Linked DNA regions of Homo sapiens: region 2 is linked to region 1. The links are contacts of gene promoters, found by promoter capture Hi-C in blood cells and fetal thymus (Javierre and others, 2016). All regions are on one chromosome and are shown on one strand. Each heading gives the region's core, a stretch centred on a gene start or on the middle of the fragment in contact. The rest is flanking DNA. Distances are from core to core; before and after follow the strand shown. Region 1 holds the start of ACSS1 (acyl-CoA synthetase short chain family member 1). Region 2 overlaps ZNF337 (zinc finger protein 337).

The links. The method cuts DNA at HindIII sites, captures the fragments that hold promoters and counts their contacts. A CHiCAGO score of 5 or more calls a contact.
Region 2: a fragment that was not itself captured here is called in contact with the fragment with the promoter of ACSS1 in region 1 in 2 of 17 cell types (total B cells and naive B cells); the score reaches 9.4 in total B cells.

Annotation. Positions count from the first base shown.
Region 1 is chr20:25,055,918-25,060,260 of GRCh38, forward strand. It overlaps ACSS1 (acyl-CoA synthetase short chain family member 1), which reads right to left and starts at 2,222. Exons shown (of 14, transcript NM_032501.4): 1 at 1,852-2,222. The coding sequence starts at 2,185. RefSeq lists enhancers at 1,318-1,447, 2,098-2,703 and silencers at 1,548-1,817, 1,948-2,477. The HindIII fragment of the contact is 7,356 bases long and covers 1-4,343 here.
Region 2 is chr20:25,688,949-25,693,291 of GRCh38, forward strand. The region is part of intron 1 of ZNF337 (zinc finger protein 337); the gene reads right to left. Among named protein-coding and RNA genes, the nearest start is that of ZNF337, 5.7 kb to the right of the region's middle. The HindIII fragment of the contact is 187 bases long and covers 1,877-2,063 here.

The DNA of each region.
Region 1 (4,343 bases), core at 972-3,471:
CGGCAAAGGAAAGAGATATTGCTGACCCATGAACAGGAGGGCACGCACATCCCAGGGGAGAAAGCTGCTGAAAAGCTGTTTTTCAAGTTAGTTTTCTGAAGCTCAATTTCTGGCTAACGTAGCCATAAAGGCCATATTATCAGAAGAAATAAGTGAAGGAAAAGGAGACAGAAGAATGCTTGCTGACCACACCCTGATCCTGACCGAGCGAGGTTCAGAAGGTCCTTGCTGTTGGCCCCAGGAGGTCCGCCCCACTGTCTTATCTGAGTGGGGCTGCAAGTGTGCACAGGCCAACTGTGAATGTTCCCCATGACCTTGGCCTCACAAGTCCAGAGCAGGTCACTTTCCACCTCTGTCCTTGGGCAAGCTGCTCTAGTCTCCTTCAAGGGCACATTGCCCCAACTCTGCAAACCAAAGGGTTTGGTTTTTTTCCCACTAGTTCAAGGGCACTTGCTGCTGACTCAATGTTAAAGAAAACACTTATCTAGTAAGTGACTCATTTTAATTAAACCAGCAAAGTAATATACAATTTCGGGGAGTGGGGGAGGTCCAAAGTTCCTTCCAATTTCTTTGAAAAATAACTGCAAGACACTATCTATAATTGTATGACTATTTCTGAAGTTATCTAAAATCGCTACTGCTTATGGGTCACCAGTAAGCGCTGGGTCTGCTGCACACCTTGCAGCACTCAGCCTAACCTCTGAGCATGACTGCCCCCATCCTCACAATGAGGAGACTGAGGGCTGGGGGGGCAGAACAACAAGGACAACTGAGGGAGGAGTTGGAGAAAATGGGGCCCTGGTGACCCTGCCATAAAGACCCGCAGGTCCTTTCTTAAACACTCCCAAATCCAGCAAGCTGGTTATGACCACCCTTCTGGTCTGCATCCCTCTGATCAACACCGTGTCTGCCAGCCCCTCCCCGCAGGCCCCACACCCAGGCCCACCCTGCATCCGGAGCCCACCTCGCACTTGGCACCCACCCTGCGTGGCCAGCCCTGCCTGCAGTTCAGGGCCTCCCCCTCGGTGCCCAGTCAGCGCCTTAGGTGGGGGCGAGGGTGCTGTGTACGACCCCCAGCCCCAAATCTTAGCAGAGCAGCAGGGCCTCTGCTCAGCAAGTTCCAAACAACTGACCACCAGTCAACTGTTTGGGGCCGACGTCAGACCCCGCGGGTCCAAAGCAGGCCCCAGGTCGCTGGGGTGCAGTTCTCTGAGGCCGAGAACGAGAACGGGGAGGCCGCCGTTACTTCCTTCCCGTCCACAGGCCCCAGGCCCCAGGCCCGCAGCGAAGAAATAACTGGTTCCAGCTGCCACGCCGAGTTTCCTCCTCCCCAGGTCGCCCGCCACAGCTCTGTTTGTTTACGTGGGCAGGGCTTGTCCCCAGGCTGATCCCCGGGCACCGCAGCCCGCAGTGACAACCGCCACCGCTTTGTTTTTCCCTCCACCCCGGTATGGGAACGGGAAAGTCCCGACTCCGGGGCGCTCGGGTGTAGCCCGCGGCTCCCCGCCGGCTCTTGCTCAGCGGCGCTATGCACCCGGTAACGCAACTCTGGAGTCCGCCGAGCGAGGAGCCGCGCCGAGCAAGGCCAGCAGCGGGGCGTCCCAAGCGGCCGCCGGGTCCCCGCGGGCGCCGGCCCGAGCTGGGCACGTGGATCTGGGGCCCGATGGGATGAGGGACGGGGTGACGTGGAGCCACTGCTTAGAGCGGGCGGGGCGGACGGAATACCGGAGGAGGGGCCCCTGCAGGGCTGCGATCCGCGCTGCCCGGGGACGGCTGCCGCTGGCGAGAGGCTCCGAGTCCCCTCGGGACCCAAGAGTTGGGGGCGTCCTGGGTCTCCCGAAGCCCACTCACCAGAGACATTTAACTGGCCTCCCAGGAACCAGCCGATCTTGCCAGTGCTGAAGTCGCAGTCCCAGACGGTGTGGTAGGGGGTGTCCCACACGAGAGTGTCCCGCGCCAGAGGCCCCCAGAAGGCGGCCGGCTCCCGGGCTGCCTGTGCACTCAGCGCGGGATACGAGCCTGGCTGTGCTGCTGCTGCTGCAACTGCGGGAGCGCTGCCCGAGGGTCCCGAGGCCGCCCTGCGCGGCGCGCTCACCCCGCACGGCGGCCGCGCGGGCTGCCCCGAGAGCCCTCGCAGGCTGCCCAGCAGCCTCCCGACGCCGCGGCCCAGGGTGCGCGCCGCCATCTAGGCAGGCTACCTGAGCTCTCTGTGCTCCCAGAGTGGGTGCCTCACGCCCGGGGCGCCCCGTGGAGTCTCCGCGGGCCCCGCCCCTGCTCCGCCCTTCCGCCACCATCCATTCCTCCAGGGCCCCCTCCCGGAGCCCGCCCGGGTCCCACCCCTTCTTCTGCTGCCCGGGAGAGGGGGGGCCGCTTAGGAAGAGGGGAGCAGCGTGGGGAAGGGGTGCAGGGGAGCGCGGGGCGGAGCAGGGTCCCAGGCCCTGGCCCAGGCGCTGCGCTCCGGTGAGTCTGCGGTCCCACCCGGATGTTCCTCGAGTCGGCCTGTTTTGGTTTCAGTTTGCACGCTCTCCTGCAAGCCCCGACAGCTTCTTCGAGCTGCCAGAGGCACGTGCGGCCCAGGACCCCAGGACGCAGGCTCAGGGCCTGGGGCGAGGGGACCCTCTGGGATGGGGAGGAGCCGGGAGGGAGCCGGCACCAACGTTAAGGGGGCTGGTGCACCCAAGCGCACTGGTGGGTCCCAAGACAATAGGTCGGTCAGTTCCGCATCTCAGAGGCTGAAGCCAAGGTTTTCATGCCTTTGTGCGCCCCTGAGAGTGAACCCCACCCCTGGAGTCTCAGCAGCACGCGAAAGGGGCTGGCGCCTTTCTAGGCTCCCGCCTAGAAGCCAGGAGGCTGCGCAAGCCTGAGTCCGTGTTCTGGGTCCCATGCTCCAGCCCCCCAGCTGCCGGCCTCCGTCCTGGCGGGGGTCACGTCCTGCTGGGGGTCGGTGGTGGGTGATATGGGGCGATGAGGACTTTCTCCAGTTGCTGCAGCATCTGTAGCCTGAGTTCAAACTCTGTGACCTTGAGCAAGTTCCTTAACTTCTCGGTGCCTCGTTTTCCTTTTGGGGAAGACGGAAGTAATGTCTCCCTGGGGGGCGGGGACGGCGGGGGTGGGCAGCTGCAGTAAGGAATACATTGGACAATGTCTGTCAAGCGTCTACCCTTGCGTGGCCCCATAGTAAGCTCAGTAGTGGGGATGATGTTTTTGCAGCTGTGGAGCCAGGAAGGACAGAAGGAAACGTATAAAACTGGTCTCCACCGAGTTCTTAAATATTCTGACACCCAAGAAGTAAATTCATAACAAACGGGTAAACACAGGGAAGAGAGATTTTGGAAAACTGGTTTATTGAGTTCTCTGTGATGGGAAAGTTTCTTTCCCTTGAGCTGTAGGGCTTGCAGAGGGGAGGAGCCTGCCATTGGAGGAGCCTCTGCGTGGGCTAGCCACCAGCCCCTGCTGGGGAATGCTGCTGTCTGCCAGAGAAGACAGGAGTGTACCTAGAGCTGGAGAATCAGTGACATCTACTAGCATAACACATGCCCTGCACAGTGCTAGCGCTTGACCTGCATTTTCTCCTTTATTTATTTATGATACTTTTTTAGAGATAGGGCCTGTAGCCCAGGCTGGAGTGCAATGGTTCCCATCACAGCTCACTACAGCCTGGAACTCCTGAGCTCAAGCGATCCTCCTGACTCGGCCTCCTGAGTATCTGGAACTACAAGCGTGTGCCACGGCACCCGACTAGTCTACTTAATTTGAAACTTATCTAGTGCTGTCCATTCCCACCAACTGTCAAACTCCAGGTGGAAAAAATGAGGAAACTGAGCCCAAATAAATAAAAGGACTTACTAAAGAGCATGCAGCTGGCTAAGGGAAGAGCAAGACTAACACCCAGTGCCCCCAGTGGGGAGCTCGTTGGCCTAAGTTCATTTGAATAGAATATTAAAGACACCCAGTACAGGGCACTGAGAGGCAGAGGTCAGTGAGTAGTAAAATTGTAAACTGAGAAAGCTCCTAACTGTGGCAGGGGGTCCCAAAGACGGCCACCAACTCTTCCTTCCCACGCCTGCACCGCCTGCACATGATGGTGTGCTGCTCTGTCCAGAGGAGGACCCTGGCTGGCTGGATTGCTTTGGCCAGTACAGCCTGGTGGGAGGGATGCTGTGACAGTTCCATGTGGAGGTCCTGAGAGACCCCGTAGCCCCAGCTTATCCTCCCATGGAACCCAGCTGCGAGCTGTGAGGAAGCGGGGCTGGCCTTCCAGAGGAAGGGACCCAGGGCGAGGATGAAGCTGTCCCATCCACAGCCAGGACCAACTCCCAGACAAGAATGACGCCAATGTGGAG
Region 2 (4,343 bases), core at 720-3,219, 630 kb after region 1:
TGAAACCCGTCTCTACTGAAAATACAAAAAAATACAAAAAATAGCCGGGAGTGGTGGCGGCGCCTGTAGTCCCAGCTACTCGGGAGGCTGAGGCAGGAGAATGGCGTGAACCCGGGAGGCAGAGCTTGCAGTGAGCCGAGATCGCGCCACTGCGCTCCAGCCTGAGCAAGAGTGAGACTCCGTCACAAAAAAAAAAAAAAAAAAAATTAGTCGGGTGTGGTGGCGAGCGCCTGTAGTCCCAGCTACTCAGGAGTCTGAGGCAGGAGAATGGTGTGAACGTGGGAGGCAGAGCTTGCAGTGAGCGGAGACCGTGCCACTGCACTCCAGCCTGGGCAACAGAGCAAGACTCCGCATCAAGAAAAAAAAAAAGTTAAATATCTCCACAGGTTGCTTACTCTATGTTCACTCTATCCTCGGTTTTTTGGGAACAAACTCTATTTGGCTAGAATATATCATCCTTTTCATGTATTGCTGGATACTACTTGTCCATATTTTGGTGAGAATTCTTGACTATTTTCCTCTGGAATGATTACATGTAAGGGCACATGAGAACTCTTGTTGAAATGTTCTGTATCTTGATTGAGGTGATAAGTGACCTGTGTATACTTTAAAGAGTCAAAACTCATTATACAGTTAAAAGCAGTGCTTCTTACGGTATGCAAGTTACACCTCAACACTGATTAAAAATCCTCTCAGAGATCAAGTATATATGGGTAAAATAACAAGACATCTGGATTTGTTTGAAATACTTTGGCACATAAACAGGGGGAAGGGATAAATCTAACAGAACTACCCATGGTTTTAAAATGATCAAATCTGGATGAAGGCAACATGGGGATTCCTATTACCATCTCCCAATTTTGCTACCCATTTGAGATTTTTCATAACACTAGTTTACAGAAAAAGCATTAATCATATTGCTAATTCTATGCTTACCAAAAAATTGGCTAAAATAATCTTATAGGAGCTAACTTCATTTGAAAATACTCAAAAGTCCCCAGCATTCAAGAAACTGCCCAATCAAGAAAAAGCCACATTAAAAACAGAAGGCAGCTGGCTGGGCACAGTGGCTTATTCCTGTAATCCCAGCACTTTGGGAGGCTGATGCATGTGGATCGCTTGATCCCAGGAGTTCGGGACCAGTTTGGGCAACATGGCAAAGGCTCATCTCTACAAAAAATATAAACATTAGCTGGATGTGGTGGCACGTGCCTGTAGTCCTAGCTACTCCTGGCTTGAGCCCAAGAGGTTGAGGCAGCAATGAGCCTTGAATATGCCACTCCACTCCAGCTTGGGCAACAGAGCAAGACATAGTCTCAAGAAAACAAAACAACAACAACAACAAAAACAAAACAGGAGACAGTCATATTTGCAGCCCAATACACCTTATTCCCAATGTTCTATCCTGTCCAAGTGTTGTCTAATGGAAAAATCTCATGGTGAACTTGCCTATAGATCCCTGGGGCAAAAAATTACAGGTGCAGAATACAACAGAGCTTCTAAAGCAGCATCTCAGTTTCCACTTCCTTCCCTCAAACCTGAGAAAGCACAGTAGACCTTTCTTACAAGGTTCTAAGCTGTTGGAGGCTGCCTGAGGGACTGCTCTGTTTTGAGGATCTCACACCTTAGGGAAGAAAAGCACTGGATCATGCTTGGCAAAGATGCAGACAGATTGAAGAGCAGATGCCTGGGGCAAGATATTATGGGTGGAGACATACAACAGACCATCAAAGGCCCAGAGGAGAGACTCTTGGGACAAATAAATATTTAAAAGCAGTTGCCTATGAGAAAATGGAAAAAGCCACAAGCAAAGGTAAGATCCATGCTCCAAAAAGGCCTGAGAAAATCTTAAACCTTCTCCTCAGATTGATCCCAAAGCTTAGAACGAATACCAAGATAATAGCAAAAATCCTCCCTGGAAAAGAGTCAGTCTGCAAAAACCGGAAAAGGAGGTTGTTTTTTCCACAATGCCTAATTTCTAACAACAACAACAAAAACTCAGAAAACATGGCCCAATAAGTGGAAGAAAATAAAGTGACGGAAACCTTCCCCGGAGAAACATAAGCTTCAGGCAAACTAGACAGATTTTAGACTGTCTAAAATATTCTCAAAAACTCATGAAACACGGGTAGAGAAAAGGAAATCAGGAAAATATATATGAACAAAATACCAACAGAGATTACAAAAAGGAAGCAAACAAAAATTCTGGACCCGAAAACACAGTAATTGAAAAATTCAGTAGAGGGATTTAACGGCAGATGAGCAGGCAGAAGAAATAATCAGTAAACATAAAGAGAAGAATTTGAAATTTCAGAGACAGAGAAGCAGAAGAGAAAAGAATGAAATAAACAGAGCCAAAAGAGTTATAAGGTGCCATTAACTGGACATATATATGGGTGTCTAGAAGATGCTGATAGATTACTGAAGAAATAATGGCCAAAACTTCAAAATTTGAAGACAGACATGAATCTACAAGGCCAGCACACTCAACAAACTCCAAGAATAAATTCAAGGAGGTCCACACCCAAACACACTTCTCAACTATACTTACATGAAACCAGCTTCAGGAACACAGGACTGGCAGGGGGAGAGAAGTTAAGAATAGTGGCATCGTGCCTCTCTCAGGGAAAAGCTGTCACCATAGACTGAGAACTGGAGAGGGACAGGGTTCCATCTTGTGATTTTCACAGCCCACAGTGGAGTTTCTCTCAGAGTGGACCAAAATGGGGGTGGGGAGGGTAGCAGTTTGTGTGTCAAATGTTACAGACTCTCACTGTTCTCAGAAAGGCTCAGTTGATTTTTCTGAATAAATGTTTCTCTAAATTCCTGAGTGGTCTTAAGACAAATTCCGTGTAGTTTAAATGGTTGTTTTTGGTTTTCTAAATTACCAGTTATGGTGTTTTACTGGAGATACAGTCCACGTCGCTCCTCACTGCCATTCCAGAATCCACATTTCTGATTATAGTTGGGACCAGAACTAGGGCCAGGCAATTAGGTAAGTGGTGTGATCATTATTTGTCCTTATGGGTAGAAGTAGAATTAGGAGATGAGCCTGGCAGGCAGAAGGAAGGAAGGGAAGGAAAAAGCTATGGCAAGGAAAGAATGAACAAGCCTCAGCACCTAAGCAAGCAAATGGGAAGTTTGCCAAGGTAGGGAAACTTCCTTTACCTAGATCACAACGAGAGAAGTAAAACAGACAAGGGGCACTACTGAGCTGGTTTCTAGATATTTCTTCTCTCATGCTTCCCATCTTAATGAACCTGAGTGTGAAATCTGAATTGTAAGGAGAAATTTTTGAGACCTGGAAAATTTCTGCATAAACTGGGTAATGAGTGAAATTAATACATTGCTAATTTTGTTGAGTATGATTCTGGTACTCTAGTTACGTTAAAAGGCAAGACAGTAACAACAAAAATAGTCCTCAGAGAAGTAGCTGCAGTAAATTTACAGATAAAATGGTGTCTTGGATTGGCTTCAAGATGCTCTAGCCTGAAAACAGAAAGCATGGGGTGGGGAGGGGGTTGGATGAAATAAGAAGAGCAAAGTGTTAAGGTGCAACAAGGGAACAGAGAGATCTGTTATATATTCTCTCTACTTTAGTTCCTACTTCAATATTTTTCATAGTAAATTTGAAAAAAATTGAATATCCCTTCCAAGATAATTTGGAGAGGAAAAATAGAGAAAACTTTCATTTCCAGGGTGTGAATGGAGAACACTGCAAACTGTTTGGTCTCACTCCTGCCATCTGTTGCCATCTGTGGGAGTTAATATCCTGTAGGAACAGAAACTGAGAGCCGTAAGAAAGTGGTTTAAATTAGTTACCAATAAATTAGATATGAATATGAGGCAAACTTGAAACATTTAGCTCCTCCACGTATATTTCATTAAAATTCTCCTAAGATAAAAAAACAGCTCCTACATTTTTGGGAGATGAAAAATGTTCATATGTTGATTTGATGATCAAGACTTCACTATATACATTTCTCAAAACTCATCAACTAGAACTTAAAATGGGAGATAATTTTATTGTCTCAATTATACCTCAATGAAGCTAATTCTTAACAGAAACCCCCAAAATCCCAGCTTGCTCCACAACCCAGTCCACTTGATCCCAGATATGTTACATAAAGTAAAAATTATTATTTTTTGAGACAGAGTCTCACTGTCCCCCAGGCTGTAGTGCAGTGGCATGTTCTCTGCTCACTGCAACCTCCATCTCCTGGATTCAAGCGATTATCTTGCTTCAGGCTCCAGAGTAGTTGGGATTACAGGCGTGAGCCACCATGCCTGGCTAATTTCTGTATTTTTAGTAGAGATGAGGTTTCACCATGTTGGCCAGGCTG